Linked DNA regions of Homo sapiens: region 2 is linked to region 1. The links are contacts of gene promoters, found by promoter capture Hi-C in human tissues and cell types (Jung and others, 2019). All regions are on one chromosome and are shown on one strand. The core of a region is centred on a gene start or on the middle of the fragment in contact, and the rest is flanking DNA. Distances in the headings are between cores, read along the strand shown.

The links. Contacts are between HindIII fragments. The study calls those that stand out against the background at their distance.
Region 2: a fragment that was not itself captured here is called in contact with the fragment with the promoter of DYRK4 in region 1 in 1 of the 25 tissues and cell types used here (mesenchymal stem cells).

What each region holds. Positions count from the first base shown.
Region 1 is chr12:4,559,868-4,564,137 of GRCh38, forward strand. It overlaps DYRK4 (dual specificity tyrosine phosphorylation regulated kinase 4), which reads left to right and starts at 2,341. Exons shown (of 15, transcript NM_001394779.1): 1 at 2,341-2,416. The coding sequence starts at 2,379. RAD51AP1 (RAD51 associated protein 1) reads left to right here. Exons shown (of 9, transcript NM_006479.5): 9 at 1-180. RefSeq lists a silencer at 2,176-2,470. The HindIII fragment of the contact is 2,169 bases long and covers 626-2,794 here.
Region 2 is chr12:4,517,157-4,521,426 of GRCh38, forward strand. FERRY3 (FERRY endosomal RAB5 effector complex subunit 3) reads right to left here. Exons shown (of 14, transcript NM_020374.4): 7 at 1,618-1,724; 8 at 902-1,099; 9 at 1-33. Among named protein-coding and RNA genes, the nearest start is that of FERRY3, 19 kb to the right of the region's middle. The HindIII fragment of the contact is 4,640 bases long and covers 1-4,270 here.

The sequences.
Region 1 (4,270 bases), core at 1,091-3,590:
TATTTTATATTTACATTGAGAATTTCAACTAGCTTCTGATCAATTTTTAATAAAAAATTTTCAAATCATGTTAGCTGTTAAAAAATGTATAATAACTCAGTTTTTCTTGGTTTATGGAAATATCTATATTAATGTGAAAATAATTAATTTAGAATTGTGATTAAAGTGAGCATTTGTCTATTGCTGTTGTACACTTCTTTTATCTAACGTATATTTTTATAGTGTCATATACCAGCCCCCTAACCTGCCCCACCTGTCCCCTTTTTAAAAACATATTTTCCAGTTACATAGCACTGAGGTACTCTATTTGGTGTAGATCAACAATAAACATAAGAGCCTACTGTATATTAGGTACTGATATAATTGATTAATCATCTGGCACCAGCTCAATAACCTGTTTTTGCCGTGTTCTTTATAGTTTATCAGGGGATTTGAAAATTACCTCAAAGTATGTTAAAACCAGCCTGGCTGAAAGCACTGATACCTTTATGTTGCCAAACCCAGTGTACAATTTTCTCACCTAATCTTATACACCCTATTCATTATACTCTGATGAAAACATTTGATTTCCTTGGCTCATGTGACACATTTCTTTGTCATTTCTTCCCATCTCCATGCCTACTCTTCATTATTTTGCAGCTTTCTAATCTGTTGTGTCACCTTTACCTACTTGTCTTACCAGTTTCATGTTCTATGCAAACTCCAGGGGTCACTTATGTGACAGTGACTGCCAAGTCAGGGTCTGTACCCTATACCATGCTCTTGACAACAGAACCTGTGGATGGTCCACTGACAATTTGATGTAGCAGATCAGTTGTTAAATTCAACGTCTCCTCCTACCCCTGACATCTCTCCTGTGTTTTCTGTTGGTAAATGAATGGCACCACCATCACTGCAGGTGCCAAAGGTGTCATCCTGGGATTGAGTCTTCTCTCGACTTTCACATCCAGTCACCAAGTCTTACTCCATTTCCTAAATTTCTCAAAACTACTCTTCCATGTGCTCTCCCTTACTCTGAAACATCATCACTCACTATTTCTAACAGGCATCCTTGCCTTGATTCTTAACCTACTCGGGCCTACTTCCATTGTTATTGCCACAGAGGGTTTTATAAAATAAAGTCAGCATGAACACCCCTCTGCAGTCTGCACATACACACCTTACCCTGGTCGAGTTCATAGCCTACTTGGTGTCTGACTCCCCCTTTCCTGCTGCTTCAACCTTGTCTCTGCCCACGTGCAACTTTGATCCCTGCCCCACTAAACTGGGTGCTGGCACAATGGTACCAAGCTTTTCTATGGCTCTGGCCTTCAGAATAGGACTTGCCTCCTTTACGTAGACAACTACTGCCTGTCCTTGAAGACTCAGATTCAACTCAGCTCTTTCAGAAAGCTTCATTTGAATGTCTTTTCTGCCTGGACCAGACTGTGCACCTCCAGGTCAACCTACTGCCACTCAATTACAAATTTCCCTTTTCATGCTTTCTACAATCTGGTGCAGAGTAAGCACTCAAAAAGTGTTCAGCTGATATATGGATTTTACCCAGAACTTTTGCTATGTACTTACTTTTTTTCTTTTTCTTTTTCTTTTTTTCTTTTTTTTTTTTTTTTTTGAGATGCAGTCTCGTTCTGTCGCCAGGCTGGAGTGCAGTGGCGCGATCTCGGCTCACTGCAACCTCCGCCTCCCGGGTTCCAGCGATTCTCCTGCCTCAGCCTCCCAAGTAGCTGGGACTACAGGCACGCACCACCACGCCCCGCTTATTTTTGTATTTTTAGTAGAGACGGGGTTTCACCATGTTGGCCAGGATGGTCTTGATCTCTTGGCCTCGTGATCCACCCGCCTTGGCCTCTCAAAGTGCTGGGATTACAGAAAAAAATGTCTAAATAGAGACAGGGGCGGGGGGGTCTCACTACTTTGAGCAGTTTGGTCTCGAACTCCAGACCTCAAGTGGTCTGCCTAGGCCTCCCAAAGTGCTGGGATTGCAGGTGTAAAACCACCGCGCCCGGCCAGAACTTCTGTGATGTAATTCTGATAACCACATGCTTCGCTTGAAGAAGGGGAGAGAGTAGGGATAATTTCATGTGTCCGGTCTGGGCAACCAACTTTAAGTTCTTTATGCTGGGATTTTGTTCAATTCTTGCCCTATACTTTAAAGAACTGGGGCAAGAGAATGCGAGTAGGAGGACGAGGAGTATGTTCTTCAGGCTGCTACTCTGCAAGGTGGTTTGGGACCACAGCCTGAGAAAGCCCTTCCAGCTCTGGAGTCATAAAAAGGGCGGGAGCCGTTTCTATAGCGACGGGAGGAGGGCGTGGCCGTCCCTTGCCCTCTGCCGGGCTCTCACAGCCTCCCGCAGCGGCGGGCGGTCAGCGCCGGCCTCATGCAGCTCCTCCCGCCGCCTATCCGCACCGGAACAAAGTAAGGGCCGCGGAGGCTCGTACTTCACGAGCAGTCAGGCGCGAGTACGAGGCAGGCGACGAAGCTTCTGGTCGACGGGGTCGTGGGGGGAGAATGAAAAGCGTGCAGAATGCAAGAGCTGACCGGGGAATGTGGGTCAGAGAGAGGCGGGCTGTGGTGCGCGGACAAGAAAATACAGTTGTAGTTTTTGCAGCAGCTGCATCCCCGGAATCCGACGTCAGTATACTTCCATGTTAAGATGCTGTCGCATCGGCGACTCCAGCTGAGTGCAGGACAGGGAGCGAGGGGTTCTGAGGAACTCAGCAGACCTATCCTGGAACTGTGCTTCCAGCCCTCACTGGGACGCCAGACTTTCTTCCTCCCTTTCTTTCTCTTCTTTACTGCATGTCCTCTTGGTAGTCGTAAGTGGGTCCACGACCACACGCCTCGCGTGGATGAGGCTCTGGCAGGCATTACTCATGTTCCCACCCAGCCCATATGCCCGGGCACCTCTGTGCTCAACCAGGGCCCAGCCCCTGACACAAAAGCGCGCGAAGGTGTGTGTAGATCACACACCCAGAGCTGCCACTCAGGAAATTCCCAATATTAGCAAATCTTTCCTTAAAAAAGAGATGAACAATGCACAATTTGAGGGTTTTTAAAGGCTATTCTGTGACATTTGCTGCATTTGAAATGTCCAGCAGCCCCTCAAAGCTTAGGAAAACCGTGACCCCTCTGACATGTCTTAAGCAACGGACAGCATCACCAATATTAATTCAAGCTTCACTGTCCAGGCTTAAGTGGAGACTCGGCAAAAGCAGGAGGCCATTTAGTGGAAAAGTTCAAACCGTGGAAACAACAAATGAAAATGTCCTTTGTCTTGCTTGAGCGATTTGATCACCTACATGTGGTCGGTATGTAAAACCTAGGAGTTCGAAGAAATTCTTCAAACATGCACTCTACCTTATTGTTTCTGTTACTTAAATCTGTTGTTTCTCTTGTTTGTTTTGGTCCTTATGGAGAAAGCAGAGGTAAATCGGAAGGGACTCTCTAGCAATATGCCAGCCACTCTTCCCTGACTTTGCCCTCTCCAACTCCACATATTGTTGCCTGCAACTTGGCTAGAATGCATAGTCCTCAAGCGTGTGGAGGACCCAGTGCTGGGATTTAGTGGTTTTAGCTGACTCTAAGCCCATCGTGAGTGTGTTGTGATGGCTCCCCAAAGAGCAAATGCTGGTGGAGGCTGCATTCATAGAAATGCAATGACCACATCAAAGAATATGGTCGTGCTGCCTGACTTAGCAATGAGTAGAACATAATCCAGACTCTAGAAACTGTAGCTACTTTGAGATCACAAAGAACTGGAAAATAGGAACAACCACAAGGCAGGCTCTCTCTGTCAGGCCTGGGTGTGCCATCACATGAAGAGAGGTTTGAAAAAACTTCACAGAATGCCTGGAGATGAGGAGATGCAAGGGAGAGAAAGCTTTTTTCTACTCAACTTTTGAACATTCAAGAACTCTTGAGTAGAAAAGAGATAGATTTGTTCCTTGGTACTCTGCAGAGGATAGCAAGGATCAGTGGAGGAAATTTTGCTCAATATAGTTTATTCTTCCAAGAAATATCAAGTACCAACCCTATGTAAATTAACAGTTGAGTGTGAAATGGGTTGCCTAGAAAAACAGTGCACTCTGTCATAGAAATATTCCAGCATAGACAGAGTGATTGCCAGGAATACCATAGAAAGAGGATTCTTCCCCAGGGTGGGAAAATGGATGACATGGTCTCCAAAACCTCTTCTAGCTCTTTAGAGTCTGGGAGTCAGTGAACCCTCAAGAGTCTCAGGGATATATGCAGAGGGTCCAAGGAATTCTC
Region 2 (4,270 bases), core at 857-3,356, 43 kb before region 1:
AGTCAGTGCATTCTTGGCAAACTGTGGCAAAATCTAAGGGACCCAAAACATTTACAAACTTCTAAATGCGAACTATCAAATATTTAGTATTTACTTACAATGAGATTTAGTAGAAAAAGAAAATAATACTTATTTTTCTTAATAAGATTTCTTATACTTGTCTTTTAAATAATTATGCCTTAAGTTAGGGCACAGCAATTTTGTTTTGATTAGAGACTTAACCTCTCTAACACTCAAAAGAGTTAATTATATTGACATTTCTTTGTTAATGTAATTCCAGGTCTTCTTTAAATAATACTTTCATCATAATCCACCCCAAAAGGTGCTACAAAATATAAGAAGGTTCTTATATTTATGAGGGGAAATAAATTCTATTTAAGCTTCTTTCAAAAACAAGTATACGTTTCATATATTTTATATATTCTACATTTTATATATTTACAAATTTAGAAATAATCATAAAAAGTGAATTGTACTAAGAGGGAAGGTAGAATTTTACCTAGCAAATTTAAGAGGTAGGTTATTAAAATATATATATATATATATATATAGACAGAGAGAGAGAGAGAGAGAGAGAGAGAGACAAATGGATGAGCTAAAAATCACCAAGCCAGAATTTGCTTCTAAACTGAAAACATGTGATTGCTCTTTTTGTTTTACCTCGTAATGAGAATTCTATAAAAACATTATTTATAATAGCATTTTAAGAAAAATAAATATGAAGCACTCTATCGATGCTACAGTTTGAAATAAAATAACTATGGCTGGGTATGTTTGTTTGGTCTACTTGGATGTCAAGGTGATTAAAATTTTTTTTCATTTTCCCTGTAATTCCTTTCTTTGTAAGAATGGTGTTACAGGATGAAATTTAACAAAATAAATGTGTATGATGTTAACTTACCTCTTTTAATACCACTATATGAATTAATTCGATTATCTACTAGTAAAACCAGGCCACAGAGAGATGTAGAATAAAGTGACAGAGCTGTTTGGAGCCGATGAAGTTTCACACCACTTCGATGATTTCTTTTATGCTTACAGAAGTCCAGCATATCTGCTCTCAGCAATCTCAAATTATGCATGGTCTTCAACTGGGCTCCTGGGGGTAGGCAATAGTCCAGGAAAGATACTTAAGCAGCTACAGAAAGTCCAGTATAACAAGATGCAAATCTCTATGGCAAGAATCCAGATAAATCTGTACCACAAAATAATTAAAAATGGGCCTTGCAACTTCCCATTTTAATGACTTTTTCAGTTTAATCTATCTGCAAAAAACATTATATAAATATACAAAACTTAAAGCCAATAAAATATAGTCTTTCTTAAAGTAAAACATAATTTGGAATTAAAAATAACATAGGTACACTCTACTCACATGTTAGGAATTTTTCTCTTACAGCATATAAAAAAAGTTGCAGCGGTCAGGCACGGTGACTCATGCCTGTAATCCTAGCACTTTGGGAGGCCAAGGTGGGTGGATTGCTTGAGCCCAGGGGTTCAAGACCAGCCTGGGCAACATAGCGAAACCTTTTCTCTATTATTTTAAAAAAATAATAATTAAAAAATAGTTTCAGAAGTTACAATAAATTATAACTGCAAAAAAATTAACACACTTACCTAAGTGAATGGTAAAACTTTCTTCTAACTTTCTCTGTTCCTCATAAATCCTTCCAATTGCTTCTACAGATTCTCTGAACTGACTTGGCTGAACTTTAATTTCCTCACTAAAAGTAATAAAATTATTGATATACTTTTATGTTTGTCAAAAACTTTTCTTAAAGGAAAGCTTTATAATGAGAGAAAACTGAACAGCTGAAAGTCTTGCTTAATTTTTTCCTAAACTCATCCTTAATCCATGGTGACAAGTAAGACAGGTAAGCACCAACAGGTTCTAAAATTCCCACTTGTTCTTTCATTTCCTCACAATAAATAAAGCAGATTATTATTTTCAATCATTATAATGTCAATTAATATATTGCCATTTAACACTTTTAGCAGCCTAAGAGAATGATTAAATGAAGCGATTAACTTATTACTTTAAAATCACATTGTATTTTAAAATATATAATACATCCTATACCAGGGCTAGCCCTAGGCAAAATCAGAAAATAGATGAAGTGATAGCAATAAAAATTTAAAGTCAAATAAAGTAGATAATAAAAAAGATGAAGTTCATTTTGATGTATACACACCCTTTACTTTTACCATTTCTTGTTTGTTTTCTTTTTTACCTCCAACATTCTCCTCCCACTAAACTGCCTTTCTTTTTGCTCTCCTCTTTATAGTTCCTGAGAAGACTTCCACAAAAGAGCAATAACCGTATCACCGTTCAATTCCAACAGTGGTATATGCTGAGGATGATACAAGTCTGTACGAGTCATCCATTTCCCTGACTAAATTTTTGGGGCTAATCCCAACAGCCCCATTAGACTCAATGACTGACTTCATTAGTAAATACGGTAAATTTAAATCTAGCCAGATAATCTACAGCAGGGGACCCCAATTCCCCGTACAGGCCTGTTAGGAACCGGGCCGCACAGCAGGAAGTGAGCAGCAGGCGAGTGAGCATTACCACCTGAGCTCCACCTCCCATCCGCTCAGCGGCAGCATTAGGTTCTCATAGGAGCGTGAACTGTATTGTGAACTGCGCATGCAAGCGATCGAGGTTGTGTGCTCCTTGTGGAACAGTTTCATCCCCAAACCCTCTCCAGCTCTCCTGGAAAAAACTGTCTTCTGTGAAACTGGTCCTCGGTGCCAAAAAGGCTCAGAGGACTGCTGATCTACAAAATCATACTTTTCTGGAGTCCATCAAAGATTTGTGATCATAAGGCAACCTAGTAAACTGAATTCCAAACCGTGACATATACCTCCAAGGACAGACAGGACACATAAGGAGTTTCATCTTTGTTACAGCATAGCTGAAATAGGATGCTGTCATACAAGGGGGTAAAAAGAAAGCAGCTAAAATTTTAACAGATTCTTGAAGGCCAAGTGGGCTAGCATATCAAGTTAGAATAGGTCGGAGCCACAGGCACATGAACTTGCAAACTCTTTTCCACTGGCCTCCATCAGGTATTTCCAGAAAACACTGAGGGCAGGAGACAAGAGAGCCTTCTCAAGGGCACAGGCAGAAATGCTGAGAATCAAGATACACGAGGCTTGACCAAACCGGGAGTGGACAAAGACAACAAAGATGGAGAAGAGTTGAACAAAGTGACCTTCCGGACCCCCAACTATGAGCCTAGATTCAAGTAACAAGTAACAAGCCTACTGCTGGGAGGCAGAGCAAAAGTATGGAGGCAGACTCCACTCTGCAGCTCTGGCATGCGAAGGCTGCTGAAAGCAAGGGATGGAGCAGAGAGACAGAGAAAAATCCTCCTGGACCCCCAAGTGCCGTTCTAAGCACAAAGTAGCACCAGTAGAAAATGAAGCCGGTGGTACATTGAAGGTACTGACAGACACGAAACCAAGCTGGGATAAAAGTGGGGTAAAAGACTACACATTGGGTACAGTGTACATTGCTCGGGTGATGGATGCACCAAAATCTTAGAATCACCACTCAAGAACTTATTTGTGTAACCAAACACCACCTATTCCCCAAAAACCTACTGAAATAAAAAAATTAAAAGTTTTTTAAAAATAAAGCCATAAAGTCTACAAATTATATGAAAGCAAGATCTCTAACAAACTTGCCATGCATTTTCAGATTTCTCCAAGCATTGTTCCAGTGAATAAGCTAATAAATAAAGTCTAACGCAAAGGGGAAAAAAAAGGAAACCAAACCTACCTCAACTGCTGATAAGATGTACACAACCTTCACATTAATATTGTTCATTTCTGGACATAAATACTATTAACCTCAGTCTCTTCTAATACCCACAATATCCAGTAATCAGTTAAAAAAAAGAAAAGAAGAAAAATAGGCTGGGTGCGGTGGCTCATGCCTGTAATCCCAGCACTTTGGGAGGCCGAGGTGGGCGAATCACGAGATCAGGAGTTCAAGACCAGCCTGGCCAACATGGTGAAACACTGTCTCTACTAAAAATACAAAAATTAGCCAGGTGTGGTGGCATACGCCTGTAATCCCAGCTACTTAGGAGGCTGAGGCAGGAGAATTGCTTGAACGCAGGAGGTGGAGGTTGCAATGAGCCAAGATCGCGGCATTGTAGGCATTGTACTCCAGCCTGGGAGACAGAGAAAGACTCTGTCTCGGGGCCGGGGAGGAGAAGAAAAAAGAAGAGACAACCAGAAAAGCAAGAAAAAAACCCAA